Regions from separate parts of the Homo sapiens genome. Here regions 1, 2, 3, 4, 5 and 6 are each linked to region 7. The links are contacts of gene promoters, found by promoter capture Hi-C in blood cells and fetal thymus (Javierre and others, 2016). All regions are on one chromosome and are shown on one strand. The core of a region is centred on a gene start or on the middle of the fragment in contact, and the rest is flanking DNA. Distances in the headings are between cores, read along the strand shown.

What was found. Contacts are between HindIII fragments. The CHiCAGO score rates a contact against its expected background, and 5 or more counts as called.
Region 1: a fragment that was not itself captured here is called in contact with the fragment with the promoter of GSG1L in region 7 in 6 of 17 cell types (M1 macrophages, megakaryocytes, M2 macrophages and 3 more); the score reaches 13.2 in M1 macrophages.
Region 2: a contact is called between a fragment that was not itself captured here and the fragment with the promoter of GSG1L in region 7, in 6 of 17 cell types (M0 macrophages, M1 macrophages, megakaryocytes and 3 more). The highest score is 17.8, in M0 macrophages.
Region 3: a contact is called between a fragment that was not itself captured here and the fragment with the promoter of GSG1L in region 7, in 7 of 17 cell types (megakaryocytes, M1 macrophages, M0 macrophages and 4 more). The highest score is 15.7, in megakaryocytes.
Region 4: a contact is called between a fragment that was not itself captured here and the fragment with the promoter of GSG1L in region 7, in 5 of 17 cell types (M1 macrophages, megakaryocytes, erythroblasts and 2 more). The highest score is 9.0, in M1 macrophages.
Region 5: a contact is called between a fragment that was not itself captured here and the fragment with the promoter of GSG1L in region 7, in 6 of 17 cell types (M0 macrophages, endothelial precursors, megakaryocytes and 3 more). The highest score is 9.2, in M0 macrophages.
Region 6: a contact is called between a fragment that was not itself captured here and the fragment with the promoter of GSG1L in region 7, in 3 of 17 cell types (M1 macrophages, M0 macrophages and megakaryocytes). The highest score is 8.8, in M1 macrophages.

Annotation. Positions count from the first base shown.
Region 1 is chr16:27,584,638-27,587,850 of GRCh38, reverse strand. The region is part of intron 2 of KATNIP (katanin interacting protein); the gene reads right to left. Among named protein-coding and RNA genes, the nearest start is that of KATNIP, 36 kb to the right of the region's middle. The HindIII fragment of the contact is 4,356 bases long and covers 1-3,213 here.
Region 2 is chr16:27,621,775-27,624,802 of GRCh38, reverse strand. All of the region lies in intron 3 of KATNIP (katanin interacting protein), which reads right to left. Among named protein-coding and RNA genes, the nearest start is that of KATNIP, 73 kb to the right of the region's middle. The HindIII fragment of the contact is 8,406 bases long and covers 1-3,028 here.
Region 3 is chr16:27,676,375-27,679,588 of GRCh38, reverse strand. It overlaps KATNIP (katanin interacting protein), which reads right to left. Exons shown (of 28, transcript NM_015202.5): 7 at 1,593-1,860. It overlaps LOC107984874 (a long non-coding RNA gene), which reads left to right and starts at 374. Exons shown (of 3, transcript XR_001752113.3): 1 at 374-649. The HindIII fragment of the contact is 2,409 bases long and covers 622-3,030 here.
Region 4 is chr16:27,708,818-27,711,974 of GRCh38, reverse strand. It overlaps KATNIP (katanin interacting protein), which reads right to left. Exons shown (of 28, transcript NM_015202.5): 13 at 3,055-3,157. It overlaps LOC100128079 (a long non-coding RNA gene), which reads left to right. Exons shown (of 3, transcript NR_147898.1): 3 at 3,057-3,157. Among named protein-coding and RNA genes, the nearest start is that of KATNIP, 160 kb to the right of the region's middle. The HindIII fragment of the contact is 2,627 bases long and covers 514-3,140 here.
Region 5 is chr16:27,659,646-27,662,733 of GRCh38, reverse strand. The region is part of intron 6 of KATNIP (katanin interacting protein); the gene reads right to left. It overlaps LOC107984874 (a long non-coding RNA gene), which reads left to right. Exons shown (of 3, transcript XR_001752113.3): 3 at 1-4. Among named protein-coding and RNA genes, the nearest start is that of KATNIP, 110 kb to the right of the region's middle. The HindIII fragment of the contact is 979 bases long and covers 889-1,867 here.
Region 6 is chr16:27,563,310-27,566,407 of GRCh38, reverse strand. The region is part of intron 1 of KATNIP (katanin interacting protein); the gene reads right to left. Among named protein-coding and RNA genes, the nearest start is that of KATNIP, 15 kb to the right of the region's middle. The HindIII fragment of the contact is 7,230 bases long and covers 1-3,098 here.
Region 7 is chr16:28,062,294-28,065,143 of GRCh38, reverse strand. It overlaps GSG1L (GSG1 like), which reads left to right and starts at 1,430. Exons shown (of 7, transcript NM_001109763.2): 1 at 1,430-2,068. The coding sequence starts at 1,720. The HindIII fragment of the contact is 8,058 bases long and covers 1-2,850 here.

The DNA of each region.
Region 1 (3,213 bases), core at 459-2,958, 480 kb after region 7:
GATGATACCAATGGATCATCTTAGGATTTTTCAACTTTATTGTGGTATGAAAGCAATATACATTCAGTGGAAACTGTACTTCAAGTACCTAAACAAGCATTCTGTTTTTCACTTTGAGTACAGTACTCAATAAATTACATGAGATATTCAACACTTCATGATGAAACATGCCTTGTGTTAGATGATTTTGCCCAACTGTAGGCTAATATTTAAGTGCCGTGAGCACATTTAAGGTAGGCTAGGTTGAGCTATGATGTTCAGCAGGTTAAGTACAGTATTTTCAACTTAGGATGGGTTTATTGGGACATAACCCATTGTATGTTAAGGAGCATCTGTAATAGTGATTATCTAGGTTGGTACGATAACGAACCATTTTTGTACCTTTCTGCATTTTCTAATTTCTTGACAATCAGCATGCATTAGTTGTGGAATCAGAAAGAAATTAAATGTCGAATGCAGGGCCCACTGGCCTGGCTATCTGCAGGTGTAAACTACACCAACCCTGCCTCCCTACCCCAACCCCAGCTACTCCAGCTGATGGAACACGGTGTGGACAGGATCTGACAGAGGGACTCAATGAATAATAAACAGCAAACACTTAAACAGCCCTTACAGATATGGTTCTAAGTGCTTCACATGTATTAGTCTTTTAATTCTCTCAACAACTCCAGGAGGAGGTACTCTATTTTCAGCTCCATTCTGCAGCTGAGGAAACTGACGCGCAGAGAGGTTAGGTAATTGCTGAAAACTACACAGCTAGTAGTAGAGCCAGGATGTGAACCCAGGCTGTCTGCCCCAGCCTCCTGCCTTGCCTGCCCGGGACCGTTCCACCTCAGTGCCAAGCCATCTCCCAGGACTTCAATAAAGCACGAGTGGCCCAAACAATGTATTTTTTAAAGAGTTTAGGTTTCTATATTAAAAAAAAAAAAAAAGAAGAAGAAGTTGGAAAAGTCCAGAATTTTATTGAACTTCCTTATACTTATTTCAGTTTCTGTTTTTTGTTTTTTTGTTTTTTTTTTTTTGAGACAGGGTCTCACTTTGTCACCCAGGCTGGAGTGCAGTGGCGCGATCTTGGCTTATTGCACACTCAATCTCCCGGGCTCAGGTGATCCTCCGACCTCGGCCTCCCAAGTAGCTGGGACTACAGGCATGCAACACTGTGCCTGGCTCATTTTTGTATTTTTAGTAGATACGGGGTTTTGCCATGTTGCCCAGGCTGGTCTCGAACTCCTGGGCTCAAGTGATCCTCCTGCCTTGGCCTCCCAAAGTGCTGGGATTACAGTTGTGAGCCACTGCATCTGACCTTATTTCAGTTTTTGTTTTGAATTATATAGTGGTGGTGGGGAGGAAGGCACAGTTCACTTGCTTCTTTTTTTTATTGGTAATTATTTTTAATTGTAATTTTTTTTTGAGGCAGGGTCTCACTATGTTGCCAGGCTGGCCTCAAACTCCTGGGCTCAAGTGATCCTCCTGCCTAAGCCTCCCAAAATGCTAGGATTGCAAGCATGAGCCACCACATCTGGCCTTCAGTAGCTTCTTTTTAAGAAATTCTTAATTTATTTTTATTTTTAATTTTTGTGGGTACATAATGGGTGTATATATTTATGAGTTACATGAGATGTTTTTATACAGGGATACAATGCATAATAAGCACATCAGGGTAAAAGGGGTATCCATCCCCTCAAGCATTTATCCTTTGTGTTTATAAACAACCCAAGTATATTCTTTTAGTTATTATTATTATTTTTTTGAGACAGAGTCTCCCTCTTATCGCCCAGGCTGGAGTGCATTGGCATGATCTCGGCTCACTGCAACCTCTGTTTCCTGGTTTAAGTGATTCTCCTGCTTCAGCCTCCCCAGTAGCTGGGACTACAGGTGTGTGCCACCACGCCCGCCTAATTTTGTATTTTCAGTAGAGACAGGGTTTCACCATGTTGCCTGGGCTGATCTGGAACTCCTGACCTCAAGTGATCCGCCTGCCTCGGCCTCCCAAAGTGCTGGGATTACAGGTGTGAGCCACTGCACCCAGCCATTCTTTCTACTTTTTTTGTGCCCATTAACCATCCTCACTTCTCCTGCCACCCTCCGTAGCCTCTGGGACCCATCCGTCTATTCTCTATGTCCATGAGTTTAATTTTTAGCTCCCATAAATAAGTGAGAACATGTGAAGTTTGTCTTTCTGTGCCTGGCTTATTTTACTAAACATAATAACCTCCAGTTCCACCCATGTTGTTGCAAATGACAGGATCTCATTCTTTTTTCTGGCTGCACAGGACTCCATTGTGTGTGTGTACCACATTCTCTTTATACGTGTGTCTGTTGGACACTGAGGTTGCTTCCAAGTCTTGGCTATTATGAACAGTGCTGCAAGAAACATGGGAGTGGAAAAATCCCTTCGATATACCCACTTCCTTTCTTCTGTGTATACATTTAGGAGCGGAATTGCTGGATCGTATGGTAGCTATTTTTTGAGGAATCTCCAAACTGTTCTCCATAGTGATCATACTAATTTACATTCCCAACAAACATGTACAAGGATTCCCTTTTCTCTGTATCCTCGCCAGTATTTGTTTTTGCCTGTCTTTTGAATAAAAGCCATTTTAACTGGGATGAGATGATATCTCATTGTAGTTTTGATTTGTGTCTAGTGGCTTCTAACTGGAATCTGGCTGTAGTTAATTGCATTGAGTTTGGGGAGGTAAGTATCAGACCAGCTCCCCTTGCCAGATGAGGAAACTGAGTCTCACATTTACCTGGCAGTCATTGCCTCTGCCCAGCCCTGTGGTCACAGGAGTTTGGGGTCCTCCTGTCTGGCTGTAAACCAGTAGCAAGGGCCTACAGGGAGGAGGGGGAGTGGCATGTTCTTGCCACTTTGCCAGGGTGCACATAACACAGGCTATCAGCTGAGCCCTGTACTTGCTGTGTTACCCAGGGCAGGCTGTCTCACCGCTCTGAGCCTAGACTTCCTCTCATGTAAGATAAGGATAATATTCCTTGCCTTATAGGGCATTGTGAAGAGTCAACAAGACAACAGATGTCAACATGATTTTTTTTTTTTTGAGATGGAATTTCGCTCTTGTCGCCCAAGCTGGAGTGTGGTGGCACAATCTTGGCTCACTGCAACCTCCGCCTCATGGGTTCATGCGATTCTCCTGCCTCAGCCTCCTGAGTAGCTGGGATTACAGGCACCCACCAACACACACAGCTAGTTTT
Region 2 (3,028 bases), core at 363-2,862, 440 kb after region 7:
TGGTGCCCAGGCTGGAGTGTAGTGGTGTGATCACAGCTCACTGCAGCCTTGATCTCCTGGGCTCAAGCAATCCTCCCACCTCAGCCTCTCGAGTAGCAGGGACTACAGGTGCGTGCCACCACACCCGGCTAATTTTTGTATTTTTTTTTTGTAGAGACAGGGTCTCCCTGTGTTGTCCAGGCTGGTCTCAAACTCCTAGGCTCAGTGGATCCACCCACCTTGGCTTCCCAAAGTCCTGGGATTACAGGCATGAGCCACTGCGTCTGGCCTCAATGCCTGTTTCTGGAACAAGTGACCCCAAGGATCTCAAGTTGGGGCAGGAGACATGGATGAATACCCTAGTGCTCACAGCTACTATTCACGTGATGCACACCACACCCATCATTTCCATTTTATGCCCATGTTGGCCTTTGGGATCACCTGCACAGATGAGGAAGTGAAGGAGTGAGTGGGGAGTACAGGGTGTGATGAGGCAGTCTAGGGACCTGACATGGCTGGGGCTGGGGTGGTTCGGGGAGGAGTCTCCTCCTCGTGGGCCACCGGGGCAGGGACCTAGATGGCAAGGAGGACCCAGTGAACACAAGGGCCCTTTGAACACAAAGTTTCAAAGGGAAACTTACAGGAAAACTTGCCCACAAAAGTGCTGGGCCTGCAGCCCCAGGAGAAGATCCAGGCAGAAAGAAGGAAGGAGAGAACCAGCATCACTGGGGGCCTCACCTGGACCTTTGTCTGAGCCAGAGCTTTAACCCAGTCTATCCTTTTGTCCTCATGGCAGCCCAGGGAGGTGCCGGCATCTTTAGTCTCCTGTTACAGAAGAGGAAACAGACCCCAGGGAGGTTTAGGGACTTGCTCAAGGTCATGCAAGCTGGGGAAATGGCAGAGCCTCTGGCAATGAGGACCCTTTGAACACAAGGGCCCTTTGAACACAAAGGGCAGGTCACTGTGTTCTCAGAGGGCAGCGGCTTAATTGTGACTAGGCTTATGACTGAGTGGTCTCTGAGTGGTGTGGCTGCCATGGCACTATAGATGAACCACATGGTTCCTCCAGATCTCGGTCATCTCAGGTCGCCTGAGGGGTTTCCCCAAGGATCAGCCATTCAAGAATTACCTGGATGTCAATTTGGGGAGAAGGCATTTATATCGAAAGGATGATAATAATAATAAACATTAAAAAAATTAGCTGGATGTGGTGGCCCGCACATGTAGGCCCAGCTACTAGGGAATCTGAGGCAAGAGGATCGCTTGAGTCCAGGGGTTGGAGAGTGCAGTGAGCTATGATCACACCAATGCACTCCAACCTAGGCAACAGAGTGAGACCCCCATCTCAATCAATCAATCAATCAATCAGTCAATAACTGAATGATGATAATGATGATGATGATAATGATGATGAATACTGGGTTGGGTAGGGGGCTTGCTATGGGCCTTCAAGGGCCTTGTCTCACTTCACCCTTCAGTGATCCTGGGACTGAGGTTCTGTTGGCCTGTTTTAGAAATGAACTTGCCCAAGGCCAGAGAGCCAAGGAAACCTCCAACCTGGATTTGAGTTCTGGCCCGTGGGGCTGCAGTGCTTGTGCTCTCCCCTGCTCCTTCCTGCTGTTTCTTGCCTCTAGCACCAGGCATCACAGAGGCTCTGAGCAAGAAGAGGTCAGAGGAGAGAGCACTGGCTCGCAACTGGGGGCTCCTTGGAGGGGGTGGCATTTGAGTCCAGTCTTGAAGGGTGAAGACAGGGAGGGCAGGGGTGTAAAAAGAAGCCTGCCATTCCTCCCCAGAACCTGTAGGTCACCTAGGATGCTCCACAGAGCTGCACATAAGAGCATCTGTGCAGGTGGAGGAGGTGAGTGTGGAGGACGGAGCTCATTGCCAGAGACTCCACCATTTCCCCAGCTTGCATGACCTTGAGCAAGTTCCTAAACCTCCCTGGGGTCTGTTTCCTCTTCTGTAACAGGAGACTAAAGATGCCGGCACCTCCCTGGGCTGCCATGAGGACAAAAGGATAGACTGGGTTAAAGCGCTGGCTCAGACAAAGGTCCAGGTGAGGCCCCCAGTGATGCTGGTTCTCTCCTTCCTTCTTTCTGCCTGGATCTTCTCCTGGGGCTGCAGGCCCAGCACTTTTGTGGGCAAGTTTTCCTGTAAGTTTCCCTTGAATGACCTTTCTCAAGGACCAAATGATCACAGCATTGCTGGATTCTTGGACCTGGAGAGCAAATCTGGGTCTACCCCCTGCAGTCTAGAGGTGTATATTACAGCCCCTCTCTGCTGTCACCTCTTCAGATACAAGGGCCCTCATCTTCTCAGTCGATCTTCATCACTCAGCCCTTTGATCACTCCGCCTGCCCTTTTATGAATCTTGTCGGGCATGATTACCTCTTTCATGAGGTTGAGTGACAAGAATCACTCAGAGTCCACTGGGACAGGCAGCTGGCAGGGTTTCTGCAGGAGTGAGGCAAGGCTGTCACATCTCCAGACTCTGTCCCCCTACTCCCTGCCCCCAGTCTTCTCCTGGAGCACACAATCACTTTCTGCTTCTTTTGTCATAGTTATAGGTGGCCTTGCGCTCACCCTGCCACTACTGGGGAGTTCTTCAAGGGTAAGAGCTGTGTGGTGGACACCTGCTCTCTCTGCCTGGCCAGGAATCTCCCCCATCTTCCAAACAGAGCCCCTCAGATCTCCACTGGGTACAGCACCATTCCTTCTTTGACTCCATGAAACTGACTCCACCGGGTGAAACTGACTCCACTGCACAATGTAGTGGGGTGGCCAAGGAACGGCCAGTAGACTGCGCCATCTCACCAGACACAGGGAGTGATTGGCTTGTATATAGTTAGGATGTATGACCCCTCTAAATCTCATGCTGGATTGTAATCCCTAGTGTCGAGGTAGGACCTGGTGGGAGGTGACTGAATCATGGGGGCAGAGTTCTCATGAATGGTTTAGCAGCATCCCCTTGATGTTGTCCTTGCGATAGTGAGTTCTCCCAAGATCTGGCCATTTACAAGTGTGTGGCACCTCCCCCCCACCCTCTCTC
Region 3 (3,214 bases), core at 577-3,076, 390 kb after region 7:
TTTTTGTAGAGATGGGGTCTTGCCATGTTTCCCAGGCTGATCTGGAACTCAAGTGATCCTCCCGCCTTGGCTGCCGAAACTGTTGGGATTACAGACATGAGCCACTGTGCCTGGCCCCCTCCAAACTCATACATTGAAATCCTAGCCGCCAGTACCCCTGACTGTATTTGGGCACAAGGTCTTTAAAGAGGTAATTAACTAAAAACAAGGTCATATAGGTGGGCCCTAATCCAATATAACTTCTCCTAAGAAGAGGAGATTAGGACACAGACACACACAGAGGGAAGACCACAGGAAGACACAGGGAGAAGATGGCTGTCTACAAGCCACAAAGAAGGAAAAGGCCTCAGAAGAAACTGACTCTTGATCTCAGGCTTCCAGTCTCCAGAACTATGAGAGAGTAAATTCCTGCTGTTTAAGCCACCCAGTCTGTGGTACTTTGTCATGACAACCCTCGCAAACTGACACACTGTCTGATTCCAAACATTCCCTCATTTCTCTTTCCTTAGGTTCATCATGGTTCAGAAAAGTTTGTCTTCTCTTGGCACACCCAGCTTTGACGGTGCACATGAATAGGATACAGAGGTGCAGGCAGAGGCCAGGCCAGCCCGAGTCAAAGCTTAGGAACAGAGGATGAAGACTGTTGCAAGTAGGCCTCTCCCCATCAAGTCCTTCTCTCTCCTCCCTGCCCCTCACCAATCGTTTTGCTCGTTCTACTTTCCAAGATCTTTCTTGACAAACTTCCTCCATTGGACACTGCTGTCTCTGCGTGCCAGCATCCTCCCTCCTTCAGGTTCACCTTGAGTTTCTTTTGGAGATGAGAGCTTTACCGCACTATCGTGTGGCTGGGTGGTGATAACCACACCCCTTAGTCCTATTGGCTGGACCTGGCCCATCAGAGCCACGGTGATCCAATCCAAGACAGCATGTGACCCCGTGTGGGTTGGAGAACCAGGTCTGGGACTTTTGCTGGGCCTTTTGGGAAAGAAAAATTCACTTTCTGAGGGGTTGCAAAGTCAGTGTCTTATTTAAAGGCAATTCTGCCTTTGTATGTTGGATAGTCTACTAAGAATGGAAGCAAGACACAGGAAAGCAGAGAAGGAGGAGAGCAAGAGGGAGAGGGAGATGGGAGAAGACAGAGGGAAGAGGCCAGAAGGGAAAAGGAGAGGGAAGAGGGGAGATGGGAGAGAGATGGAGACGGAGAGGGAAAAGAAGACGAAGAGGGAGAGGGGAGAAAATGAGTCTTGCTACATCTCAGAACCTTTCAGTTACTCAAGTCAATAAATAGTCCCTTAGCTTAAGCTAGTCTGTATTAGCCAACTGGTATGTAGATGCTGCAAAACATCTTACAGTGTACAGAACAGACACCTCCAACTATCTGCCAGGAATTTACCATCTGGAATTTCAGGGCCCTGAGGAAGCCTTTGGGAAGCTCTGCGTCTTGCAATCAACAGAGACCTGACTGATATACCTCCCTGGCCTGTGAGACACTCTACCCAAAGAGGAACTCAAAGGACCACTGGAAGTTTAAGTCCTGCTATTAGATGCAGAGACACCAATGGCAAAGAAATGATATACAAGACAGAGCTCACTTTTGGAAGCTGGGTTAAATTCCAGCACCACGAGGGTGTCTGGGCCTGGAGAAGAGCGTCCTTCTGTCTCCTGTTCCCCGTGAACATCTTTCTGAGTCCAGTCGCCACTGGAAGGAGGGCGGTCATGTCTGGGATGGCCCACCAGTGCCGGGTCCTCTGGCTCAGGCTCAGAGAGTATGTCTTCCTCAATAGAGTCATACTCATCGCTGGAACAATCCTTTTGTTTCCTTTGTAGATTTACACTAAGTTCCAGGCTTCTTCTCAGCTCCTGCAAAAAGCCCAGAAGAGAGATGAGAGATAAATATGGTACCTTGAGAAAAACTTATTTGAAAATAGATCATTTGAACCAAAGAATTATTCTCCCCAAACTAACATTTAACAATATTATCTCAACCCTTGTGATGTCACTGCTTTGAAGACGAGAAAACAAAGGGCAGGGGAAAATGAGTAACTCCCTGGACAGAGCAATGTTGTTAATATTAACTGTGGTGTTTGTATCCCGGAGATGCCGGGGGAAGGTGGGGTGGGGGGGAGTGCACATGTGAAGGAGAGGGAGAGAGAAACAGACAATATGGTTTGTTAAAATCTGGGGCTTGTTCAAACAGATTGTGGAGTCCCACCCACTGATTCAGTGGGTCTGGGATGGGGCCTGAGGATTTACATTTCTAATAAGGTGATCCTGACACTGCTGGTCCAGGGACCACACTTTGAAATATGAACTCCCAAAGGCCTCCAAATGACCCTAAACTTCCAGATGGTAAAATGTCTGTCAGGTAGTTGTTAGGGGCTGACCTGCATATTGCAGGGTGTTGAGCGGCATCTAAATGTCATACTATTTAGCACTTAACTACAACTGCTTCAAGATTTTTTTCATGTTTCTTTTGTCTACATGAAATTGTAGATTCCTTATGGCTAAGCATTAAGATCTATATTTAGAGTGACCAGGACATGAATCACCCAAACCAAGACATTTCAGAGAGAAAGCGAGCACTACTATATTTACACTGGGACAAAAAGTATAAACGGAGCTGGGACAGTGGCTCATGTTTGTAATCCCATCACTTTGGGAGGCCGAGGCAAAAGGACTGGTTGAGAACAGGAGTTCAAGACCAGCCTGGGCAACACAGTGAGACCCTGTCTCTACAAAAAATAAACAAAAATTAGCTGAGTATGGTGATGCATGCCTGTAGTCCCAGCTACTCGGGAGGTTGAGGTGGGAGGATCACCTGAGCCTGGGAAGTTGAGGCTGCAGTGAGCTATGATTGCCACTGTACTCTAGCCTGGAGATACACACACACACACACACACATGCACACATATATATAGATGGGACTGTTTGGGCAAACCAGTATGTTTGGTCAGCCTAGCTATACTACCCCTTGTAGCCTATATAGTATCCAATGTAGTTCTAAGAAAATGGGAAGCAATCAATAAAGCTTTGATAATTGACCAATAAACCTAATAGTTATTGCAGTAGGCTGAATAAGGGCTCCCCAAAGATGTCCACATCCTAATCCCTAGAACCTGTGAACTCCTGAGGGCTCAGGAGGAAGTGAGGAACACCTTGAGTGTATAGAACACTTTTACCATCTTAGAGAAATCATCCTATACAGACCGATGAT
Region 4 (3,157 bases), core at 578-3,077, 350 kb after region 7:
CTGGGCCAAGTCCCAGCAGCAAGCATGGGAGCCTATAGACTTGAATCTGGAGGCAAAGCAGGGATAGGCCAGGCCACAGCACCCAGGCAGCCATCATCCACAGCTCAGGGACTGTGTCTTTTGAGGGCTGAGATCACAGAGCTACTGATCTAGAAGGGGACTCAGACCCACCCAGTCCAACCCTGGGGACAGTTGTTGCTTCTTAGCTATCTAGCATCCAGCCCGCCGTTTGAGTGGCAATCTTGAATTTCTTAATTTTTGTTTTTACTTGTGACATATATTACACCTTTTCTAAGCAATCTTGAATACCTTCAGGGAGAATCTTTTCCTGCCCTGCTGGGGCATCTTGGTGGAACTGGCATCAAGATGTCCTGCCCTATTCAGTCTGGTCCATCAGCATTCCTCTCCTGAGACTATTTCCAGCAGAGAGTTGCGAGGACAAACCAACCAGCTAACCGACACTGCCGAGGCATCTCAATAAATGGTTGCTGTATGAACTAAGGGAATGAAGCTTTATCCTTTTCTCCATCTCCCCTTCTCATTTTGTTCCCTTCTCTGAAAGTAGCCCCCAACCTTGAGTCATGACCCAGTTTAAGACGTAAGTTAGTGATGGTTTCGGATGCCATGGAAGTGACCACTCACACAAAGGCCAAAACAGTCAACTAAGTAGGACAGCACGATCTCCCCCAGAACCTCAAGTCTGAGAAAAGAATCTTTCCAGAAGAATCTCACATCCTCCTGTTCATCTCCCACCCCCAAAAGACCACACCCGTGGTGGCCAGCATTCCAGGATGCTCCCTAAAACCCCAACTTTCCCCCAAGGCCCATCCTCTCCTGGCCTGCGTGGCAGTGAGTACACTAGCTACTCAAAAGACTTGAAACACATTTACTTTTTAAACATGTGCTAACTGAGCTGGACTCAGTTTCTGCTGCTGGAAATCTAAGAATCTGAACAGATGATTGACCCAATCTCCCATTTTTCAGCTTGCAGAAAAACCCACTCTCAGAGAAGGCAGGCAAGTTGCTGAGGCCAGAGTCAAGACCAGAATCTGGGTCTCTAGAACCAGAGATTTCAAAAACCCCTTTTCTTGTTTCCTCTTCTTTAAAATGGGAATAACACTAACTACTTTTCCCAGTGGTATTAATACTATTAATAATAATAACAATAACAGCAAAGGCTGGGCATGCTGGCTTATGCCCGTAATTCCAGCACTTTGGGAGGCCAAGGTGGGAGGATCACTTGAGGCCAGAGAAACCATCCCAGGTAACATAGTGAGACCCCGTCTCTATAAAAAATTTTACAAAATTAGCCAGATGTGGTGTTGTGTGCCTGTAGTCCCAACTATTTAGGAGGCTGAGGCAGGAGGACAGCTTGAGCCCAGGAGTTTGAGGCTGCAGTGAGCTATGATCACGCAATAACAACATCTTCCCAGGTCTCCGAGGAGATAATTGTGAATGAAGCTGAGGCCCAACATAGCAAAGATGACGTGGCTGCTACTCTGGCTCAGTTTAGCTCACAGTCTCTTGTGTGCAACTTGCAAGTAGCAGGAAGGAAAAAATGCCAGTACCCTCCCCGATCTTTTTTTTGTAAATTCTGTTGTTTGTTTGTTTATTTGTTGAGACGGAGTCCTGCTCCATCGTTCAGGCTGGAGTGTAGTGGCACGATCTTGGCTCACTGCAACCTCCCCTCCCAGGTTCAAGCGACTCTCCTGGCTCAGCCTCAAGTAGGTGGGACTACAGGTGTGTGCCCCAACGCCTGGCTAATTTTTGTATTTTTGGTAGAGACAGGATTTCGCCATGTTGGCCAGGCTGGTCTTGAACTCCAGGCCTCAGGTGATCCGCCCACCTCGGCCTCCCAAAGCGCTGGGATTACAGGTGTCAGCCACTGTACCTGGCTCTGTTGGATATTTAAAGGAAAGAAACATTCAACGTTTGTGGAGTGTGCACCTCACGACCTAGGGCAGCAGGGTCCTGAGGGGGTGTGGGCAAGGGTCCTGGCCCAGGCTGCCCGATATGAACTTGGCTCCACTACCTTCCAGCTGCATGACCTTGGCCAAGTCAATGCCCTTCTCCAAGCTGTAGTTTCTTCAACTACAAAGAACATCCATTAACCTTAATGACCCCTGAGGTCCAGTGTTTGATGGTGACTGTGGAAAACTGCAAGGTGGATAAAAGCAGGTGAATTGGCTCCCCCAAGAAAAACCCACAGAGCAGGGGCTGGGAAACAGCTTAGGGAGAGAGTGTCTGGGGCCTCTGCCAGCACCACTCCCTCAGGTTCCTCCCCAACTTTGCCCAAATGAATAACCCTGGTAGATTTTATCTTATTTATTTTTTTTGAGACAGAGTCTCATTCTGTCACCCAGGCTGGAATGCAGTGGCACAATCTTGGCTTACTGCAATCTCGGCTTACTGTAACCTCTGCCTCCTGGGTTCAAGTGATTCTCCTGCCTCAGCCTCCAGAAGTAGCTGGGATTACAGGCATGTGCCACCACGCCTGGCTAATTTTTGTATTATTAGTAGAGATGGGGTTTCACCATGTTGGCCAGGCTGGTATTGAACTCCTGACTTCAAGTGATCCACTCGCCTCGGCCTCTCAAAGTGCTGGGATTACAGGTGTGAGCCACCATACCCGGCCTATTTTTTTTTTTTTTTTAGAGACAGGGTCTTACTCTGTTGCTCCGACTGGAGTACAGTGGTACAGTCACAGCTCACTGCAGCCTCAATCTCCTTAGGCTCAGGAGATCCTCCCACCTCAGCTTTCCAAGTAGCTGGGACTACAGGCACAAGCCATGATGCCTGGCTAATTTTTTGTGTTTTTTGTAGAGACAGGGTTTTGCCTTGTTGCCCAGGCTGGTCTTGAACTCCTGACCTCAAATGATCCGCCTGCCTCAGCCTCCCAAAGTGCTGGGATTACAGGTGTGAGCCTCTGTACCTGGCCAGATTTTGTTGTTCTTCCCCTCCCTCCACTCATACCCTTAACACAGATTTACCAAGGGCAGAGAAAATGCATGGGAATACACAGCCAAGAAGCAATCCAGTGCCCCTTCCACTCACAGCTAAGTTCCTGTTGACGAGGCGGCCCAGCTCCCCAGGCGTGGCTGTGTTCCGGATATCCACATCGTGGGGCGACACATAAAGCTTTGTGTCATTCAAGTCA
Region 5 (3,088 bases), core at 129-2,628, 400 kb after region 7:
TTGATTCAGAAGTTAATCTTTATTTTCATTAAGATTGAAAAATATGCTTTATTAAGTTCAATTCATCTGGCACCTTCATTTGTAGAAACACCCTACTGAGGGATGGGATCACTACATCTCTTACTTCTGGACCTGTAATTCATGGGCATTTAGTGCTTGTTCAGCATCATTTCACATCATTCATGCTCATCACCAAATTATTCCTGCTCAGCTTGCCCTGTGCTGTCTGACCCACCTGCCCAGGGCCCTTTCTAATGCCACAAGCCAGCCGTCTTTTGGTCTGAGCTGTCCAGTTGGTCATCCCTGGGGGCCTTTGATGTTTCTGGGTAACAGACGGGCTAGGTCAAGAGCCACTGTCAAGGAGAAAGAGCTCTTCCTCCTGTCTCATCAGGAACTGACAAAGCTTTCATTATCTAAACCAGAAGTTGCAAGTTGGTAGTCTAAAGGCCACATCTGGCCAGCAGGTATATTTTGTTTGGTCCACAGGAAATTGTGAATTAGGCTGGGCATGGTGGCTCATGCCTGTAATCCCAATGCTTTGGGAGGCCTACGCAGGCGGACTGCTTGAGCTCAGGAGTTCAAGACCAGCCAGGGCAACACAGTGAAACCCCATTTATACTATATATATATATATATATGTATGTGTATATATATATGTGTGTATATATATATATATATATATATGTATGTGTATATATATATATATATATGTATGTGTATATATATATATATATATATATGTATGTGTATATATATATATATATATATATGTATGTGTATATATATATATATATATATATATATATATATATATATATATATTAGCCAGGCACAGTGGCTTGTGCCTGTAATCCCAGCTACCTGGGAGGCTGAGGTAGTAGGAAAGCTTGAGCTCAGGAGGTTGAGGCTGCAGTGAGCTATGATTACGCCACTGCACTCCAGCCTAGGTGACAGGGCAATACCCTGTCTGAAAAACAAACAAACTATAAATTAGTTGCCAACATAGAAATAATTGGGGGAAATCAAACATAAAGAAACCCAGGCCGGGCGCAGTGGCTCACGCCTGTAATCCCAGCACTTTGGGAGGCCTAGGTGGGTGGATCACCTGAGGTCAGGAGTTCGAGACCAGCCTGGCCAACATGGTGAAACCCCCGTCTCTACTAAAAATACAAAAATTAGCTGGGCATGGTGGTGTACGCCTGTAGTCCCAGCTACTTGGGAGGCTGAGGCAGGAGAATCGCATTAACCCGGGAGGCGGAGGTTGCAGTGAGCCGAGACCATGCCATTGCACTCCAGCCTGGGCGACAGAGTGAGACTCTGTTTCAAAAAAAAGAAAAGAAAGAAACCCAGAAACCCAGATACCTGGCTTCTCTTAAACCTAAAAAGCCTGGCACCACTAGGCCCATATTTCTACACGATGACAGTCCACTGTGATTGTCTGCTACTATCCCCACCATTCCCTGCATGCCCTGACTGACCCACCTGCCTCACTCAGGTGATTTAAAATATTCTCTCACATTAAGAACATGTGCCAGAAATCCCAATATTTCAGGATCCAAACTACATATCTCAAACTGACTCTTCTACCCCAAGCAACACAAAAATTCCTTGTTAGATTATGTGTCCTGATTCACAGTTTGGAAAACACTCACTGTAATCATAACTCAGTGATGTGATGACTGAAGTCCCTTGTGTGGGCTGGTCAGGGTGCCTAATCAACAGCTATACCACTCACTCATTGATTCAATCATTCAATCCACTTGCTCAATGAAGATTTATTTGCAGACCAACTCTATGCCAGGCACTTTTCTAGGGACAAGAGACACAGCAGGCAATGAGACGGAGCACATTCTGCTATCATGAAGCTTAGATCTGGGATGGGGGAAGGTGTTTGAGGCCCTAAATACTGAACTTGCAAAAGACCTAGAGCAATAGCTGGATGCGGTGGTGTGTGCCTGTATCCTGAGCTACTTGAGGGGGATGGCTTGGGGCCAGGTGTTTGAGGCTGTAGTGCACTATAATTGCACCTGTGAATAGCCACTGCATTATAGCCTGGGCAATGTAGTGAGACCCCATCTCTTAAAAAAAAAAAAAAAAGTACTGATATGAGCCAGAGCTCCACAAACTATTATGTATCGTCTACTCCCATCGATGGATTTGTTGTTGTTGTTGTTTTGTTCTGTTTGAGATGGAGTCTTGCTCTGTTGCCCAGGCTGGAGTGCAGTGGTGCCATCTCGGCTCACTGCAACCTCCACCTCCCGGGTTCAAGTGATTCTCCTGTCTCAGCCTCCTGAGTAGCTGGGATTACAGGCATGCGCCACCATGCCTGGTTAATTTTTGTATTTTTAATAGAGACGGGGTTTCACCATGTTGGCCAGGCTGGTCTCAAACTCCTGACCTCAGGTGATCCGCCCACCTTGGCCTCCCAAAATGCTGGGATAACAGGCGTGAGCCACTGCCGGCCAATCCACGGATTTTGTAATATGGGAATAAGATTTTCTTATAAACCATACCTAGGATTTACGATTTCAGAGCTGGCAGGTGCAGGAGATATTTAATTCACCGCTTCTTGTTAAAGGAGGAAATGGGGGCCCCAGAGGAGTATGACTTAGCCAAGGCCCCAGAATGTTTATGGAAAAACCCAAGCTACCTTCCCAGGCTTGCGGAATCTGTCACTTGGTATTTCTCCTCCCTAAAACAAGACTCGCAAACTCCGACATCCTCAGGAGGCGTAATGTTATATAAACTATCAAATAAACCACAGTGTTGTACAATAGGTAGTGGGGACCAGGCCAAACTGGGGGTGCATGCTCAGAAGAAAAGTTTTCTAAGTCCAAGTCAAACAGCAACAATGATAACCATGGCGTGCCACCAAACCGGCCAACAGAACACATCTGTGAGCTGAAGCTGGCCCTTCTAGTCACGAATCTGAGCCCTCAGTTTGGCCACACTCCCTCCCATTCCTCAGTGTATTTCTATCCTTATCCTGCATTTTAGCATATTTTTTCAAGTCATACCTAATCAGAAAGCCTCTCCTACATGCCTCTATTTTCTCTGCATTGTTTTTTCTCAAGTTTGAGCCACATTT
Region 6 (3,098 bases), core at 568-3,067, 500 kb after region 7:
CCCACCACCACGCCCGGTGTATTTTTGAATTAGTAGAGACTGGGTTTTGCCATGTTGGCCAGGCTGGTCTCGAACTCCTGACCTCAGGTGATCTGCCTGCCTTGGCCTCCCAAAGTGCTGGGATTACAGGAGTGAGCTACCACGCCTGGCCGGCTTCCTGAACCTTGATTCTGGCTTCTACCTATAGTGTTTGCAAAGATACGCATGTGTTGGAGTGAGGTAAACAGAGGAAGGTGGCAGGATGGGGACAAGGTGTCCTAAGAACAGCTGCCCAGGAGGGGCACAGTGGCTCATGCCTGTAATCCTATCACTTTGGGAGGTTAAGGTGGGAGCAGCTCTTGGGCAACAAAGCAAGACTCCATCTCTTAAAAAAAAAAAAAAAAAACAGCTGCTGGTTTCCATACAGAAAGGTGGGCCTGGTTTTGATGGATTAGATTTTCCAGAGAAGTGATAAATCCAGTCTTCTAATTTTTAAATGATTAATAATTTAAAAAATTTTAAGGCTCTGTACAGGCTAAAAAAATCAGGCCTCTAGTTTCCAACTCAGTACATAACTAGGCAGACAGATCTCCCACTTTCCCACTCTTCCTTTGTTTTTTTTTTTTGTTTTTTTGTTGTTTTTTTTATGAGACATCTCACTCTGCTGTCCCGGCTAGAGTGCAGTGGTGTGATCATAGCTCACTGCAGTCTCAAACTCCTGGGCTCAAGCCATTCTCCCACCTCAGCCTCCAGAATAGCTGGCACTATAGGTATGTGCCACCACACTTGGCTAAAACTTACTTTTGTAGAGACAGGGGTCTCACTATGTTGCCCACGCTGGGCTCAAACTCCTGGATTCAAAGCAATCTCCCACCTTTGCCTTCCAAAGTGTTGGTATTACAGGCGTGAAGCAGCATGCCTGACTTTCCCATTATTTCTTTTCTTTCCTTTTTTTTTTTTTTTGAGACAGAGTCTCACTCTGTCGCCCAGGCTGGAGTGCAGTGGCGCAATCTCGCCTCACTGCAACCTCTGCCTCCGAGGTTCAAGTGATTCTCCCACCTCAGCCTCCCAAGTAGCTGGGATTACAGGGGTACGACATCATACCCAGCTAATTTTTGCATTTTTAACAGAGACGGGGTTTCACTATGTTGGCCAAGCTGGTCTCAAACTCCTGACATCAGGTGATCCACCCGCCTCGGCCTCCCAAAATGCTGGGATTACAGGTGTGAGCCACCGCGCCTGGACTCCTATTATTTCTTTATCTTGATGCCATGGACCCGTTTTGAGGGGACTTCTTTAAGGACATCCCACTAAAACAACAGAAATCTATTAGACAAAGAGCAGGACTGTTTGAAAGCCAGGTAGGGCCGGGCGTGGTGGCTCACACCTATAATCCCAGCACTTTGGGAGGCCGAGGCAGGCGGAACACCTGAGGTCAGAAGTTGAGACCAGCTTGGCTAACATGGTGAAACCCTGTCTCTACCAAAAATACAAAAAATTAGCCGGGTGTGGTGGCGCATGCCTTTAATCCCAGCTACTATGGAGGCTGAGGCAGGAGAATCGCTTGAACCCAGTAGACGGAGGTTGCAGTGAGCTGAGATTGCGCCATTACTCCAACTTGGGCAAGAAGAGTGAAACTCCGTCAAAAAAAAGCAAGCAAGCAAGCAAGCAAGCAAGCAAGCCAGGCAGACACCGGCTCTGCAACACCCCTTCCCTTCATTCCCCACGTGTGCCTCCAGGCTGATGTGGGCCTTTAAGTTACCTTCCTTTTTGGAAAGCCTGATATGATACCCCTGTCACTTTTCCTTTGCATTTTCTGTGTAACTTGACTTCTGGGGCCCAGTTTACTGCCAAATTACCTGGGATAAACAAGTCATGCTAAGATCTTCTTTTCCTTTCCAAACCCAAACAGCAGCTGGCATACAGAAATGCTTATTTATAACCTGCACACCGTTAACGCGCATTTGCTTGGTTTAGAAATGCTTAGCCATGTGTTCTTCTGGGAGCTTCATAATTAGGTAAGAGCCTGGGGACAATGCTGTGTGGCGGCTGAGAGGGGAGGCTCTGGGTCAGCCCGTCTCTCTTAGCTACTCATTACCCATTTGGGAGTCCTATTAGTCCTGACTCCATTTAAGTCTATTGTCAGGGTTAAGGCACTACATGTAAAACTCTCAGAACAGTGCCCTGCATACAGTAGGTACTTAGCAGTTATTAGTTCCCATAAACTGCTGACTATTCATGGATCTCAGCCAGTTCAACTGAACTTGGGCTTCCAAATAGATCTGGAACCTGCTCATTCCTATCATCCCGCTCTCCAAGCCAGGCCCCGTCAACTCCCCCTGGGCTTTTTCTTTTTTCTTTTTTCCAGACAGGGTCTTGCTCTGTTGCCCAGGCTGGAGTGCAGTGGGCATGATCATGGCTCACTGCAGTCTCGACCTACTGGGCTCAAGTGATCCTCCTGCCTCAGCCTCCTAAGTAGCTAGGACACAGGTATGTGCCATCATGGCCAGCTTTTTTTTTTTTTTTTTTTTTTTTTTAATTTACTAGAGATGAGGTCTCACTATGTTGCCTAGCTGGTCTCGAACTCCTGGGTTCAAGCAATTCTACCCATCTCAGCTTCCCAACGTGCTGGGATTAGAGGCATGAGCCACTGCATGTGACCAACTTTTTCAACAGCCACCTAGTAGGTATCCCTGCCTCCACTCTTGCCTGGATTTTCCTATGGCAGCCATATAAAAACCAGACCCTACCACTTGCCTGCCTGAACTTCTAATGTTTCCCTGTGCATGCAGAAAAGAATCCAAGCCTCATTCTGACCAGGCTCTGCATGGCCTGGCCCACGGGATATTTTGGACCTCTCCTCCCTCTTCCCTGCAGCCCTCTTCCCTGCAGTCTTTCTTCTTTGTATTTAGAGAAGGAACCTTGCTCTATTGCCCAGGCTGGACTGCAGTGGTGTGATCACAGCTCACTGCAGCCTCGACCTCCCAGGCTCAAGCGATACACCCAAGTGGACTCCTGCACAGATGGGACCACAGGCGTGCACCACTGCACCTAGTCCCACATCCCTCTTCTGCTCCGTAGACCCAAGACTCCTTCCTGCCTCAGGGCCTTAGCTCTCT
Region 7 (2,850 bases), core at 181-2,680:
GCAGATTAGCAGCAGCTGACAGTGGGTGCCGGCTCACCCACAGGAGTAAGGCAATTCATAATCGGTTAACCTTGAATTCTGCAAGGCCTGCCACTCGGCAAGCCGGGGGTTGTCGGAGCAGTTCTCAGCTTGGGCAGAATTCAAATGAGCTCTTATAATCAACATGCAATTAATTGTTGCACGCCCTGAGCATCTGGGCAGTAAGTGCTGTGCAGCGCGAAGGGAGTTCAGGGAGCGTGGTCATCTTAGAGCAGAGGTGGGGACGGGGTTGCACACAGTTTCCACGTTGCACAGGAGAGCCTGAAGAGGTTTGTCTGAGTTTGGTCAACTGATCTTGGTTCAGATGTCAGTAACAGTGAATTATTAATTGAGTCTACTGTGTGCCAAATGCTTTTTGCAGCCATGATCTCATTACAGCAGCCCACTGTGATATACCTTGAAGGGGGGGGGGTCCTCCCTTTTTTATAGTTATGGAAATTGAGGCTCAGAGAGGGTAAGTGACCTGTTCAAAGCCACACAGCTGGTCAAGCCCTAGATATGCTTGATCCCAAAGTCAGTATGTTTGGCCACCCTGCCCCCACCCGAATCTTGAAGATTCTACCCACATTCACATGGTGTGCATGTGAGCAGGGTTGGCAGCCCCTGTAGGGCACCACTGCCTGGTAGCTGCAATAACTTTGTGGCCGGCATGGGCCCTCCTAGGGTTCTGCTGTTTGGGATCTCAGGTGGGTGCAGTGGGCTGTCTGGGGTACCCTGTTGCCACTCTTCCTGCAGTTGCATGCCATGGTTGGGAGCCCAGATGACAGTTTCATCCTTGGAGGGGAGCTCTTCCCAGATGCTGGAGGTGACACCCAGGAGACAGAAAAACGTTTCAAACCCTATAACCCAATACTCCAGGAGGGGCGCCTCCTGACAGATTCTGCCACTCCAAGTCCAGCATGGGTTGTCTTATCCAGGGGGTCTTGCAGCTCCCTGGCTGTGGGAAGCCCTGCAGGCTCTGCTGTTTAGAACCTTTGGAAAAACTCCTTTCTCAGGGTCTGGTGCGGGGGTCCTTTTGGGGATCCCCTTCTGGGACAGGGTCCTGCTGGTCCGTGTCCCTCTTGGGGAGCCCCAGCAGGCTCTGCCCTTGTCTCCTGGGGCAGGGCCTCTCTGGGTCTCATGAGATGCCCGCTCCCGGCGGGTTTTGTTGCCCCACGTCCGCCGTGGGGATCTTTTCTCAGGAGCGCCTTGCCTGGGATTCTCCTTGCGTCTCAGACCCTCACCCTGGCTCGGATTTCTTTCGGGGGCGTCCCTCCACTCCCAGGCCCCCGCCCGCGCCCGGCGTGGCGGCCCCCTCTCCCCGTGCGGGCGGGCTCCGGAACAGTGTCGCCGGCCGCCTGCAGGTGTCTCCCCACGGAGGGGCGCGCGTCCCTGCGCCGTGGCCGCTGCCAGGCGCCAGCGGCTCCTAGCCGAGGTGCACTCGCGCTCCGGGCTCCGGGCGCGCCGTAGCCGCTCCTCCACCGCCGCCCGCCCCGCCAGCCCGCCCCGCACGCCCCCCGCGCCGCGCCCCCACCCCGGGGTTGGGGGGGGCATGGGCCCGCGCCGCGTCCGCCGCCGCCGATCTCAGGCACCCGAGCCCCGGGGCGCGGCGGGCAGCGGCCGCTGACGCGGGGCGCCAGCTGCCAACTTCGCGCGCGGAGCTCCCCGGCGGTGCAGTCCCGTCCCGGCGGCGCGGGCGGCATGAAGACTAGCCGCCGCGGCCGAGCGCTCCTGGCCGTGGCCCTGAACCTGCTGGCGCTGCTGTTCGCCACCACCGCTTTCCTCACCACGCACTGGTGCCAGGGCACGCAGCGGGTCCCCAAGCCGGGCTGCGGCCAGGGCGGGCGCGCCAACTGCCCCAACTCGGGCGCCAACGCCACGGCCAACGGCACCGCCGCCCCCGCCGCCGCCGCCGCCGCCGCCACCGCCTCGGGGAACGGCCCCCCTGGCGGCGCGCTCTACAGCTGGGAGACCGGCGACGACCGCTTCCTCTTCAGGAATTTCCACACCGGCATCTGGTACTCGTGCGAGGAGGAGCTCAGCGGGCTTGGTGAGTGCGCGCGGGCGGCGGCCAGCTCGGCTCCGGCTCCCCCGGGGCGGCGCGGCCATCGAGGCCCGAGCCCCGGACCCGTTCGCCCTCCTCCCGCCGCCTGGGCCCAGCTCCCAGCGCTCCGCCTGGCTAGGGGCGACGTTCCGGGGCAGGGGGCGCGCGCCGTTCCGGGGCCGGGGACCAGCATGGGGGGACGTGCGGGACGCCCCGCCGTGGAGAGGTGCAAGGCAGAGCTCCTACCCGCTGCGGACGCCCCGCGGCTTTGGGGACGCTCCCGCGCCCCGGGAAGGCGCCCACCCCCGCTGCCGGTCGGAGGGGCGCGCGCTGCTTTCCGCTCCTGAACTCATCTCCACGCTCGCCCCCTCCTCCTCTTCCTTTCGCGGGGCACTAGATGCCCCCACCCACCCCGGAACGCCCCTGGGGGTGGGGGTGATGCAGGGACTCCTGCTACCAGCCGCCCCTCCTGCCGCAGATCCACAGACCCGGGAGCCTTCCACCCCCATCGCCAACCCACGCCGAACCTCCCAGACGGGAGTGGGGAGTGGGGGAGTCCCGCGGGCTCCCGGAAAGCCGCACCCGCCCAGAGGCACCCCTATTGCCAGACGCCAGGGAGCCCTCTGTATCCTGGCCCCCTCCTGGGAGAGGCAGGCTAGGGAACTGGGGACAGCTGGGCAAACTCCGGGTCGAGGAGTCCAGGAGGGCTTAGCTTAGCACAAGGCTCCTATTAGGTTCGGTGGGGGACTGACTTTTCAGAAGGCAGATCAGACTGTCCCCTTTGCCTG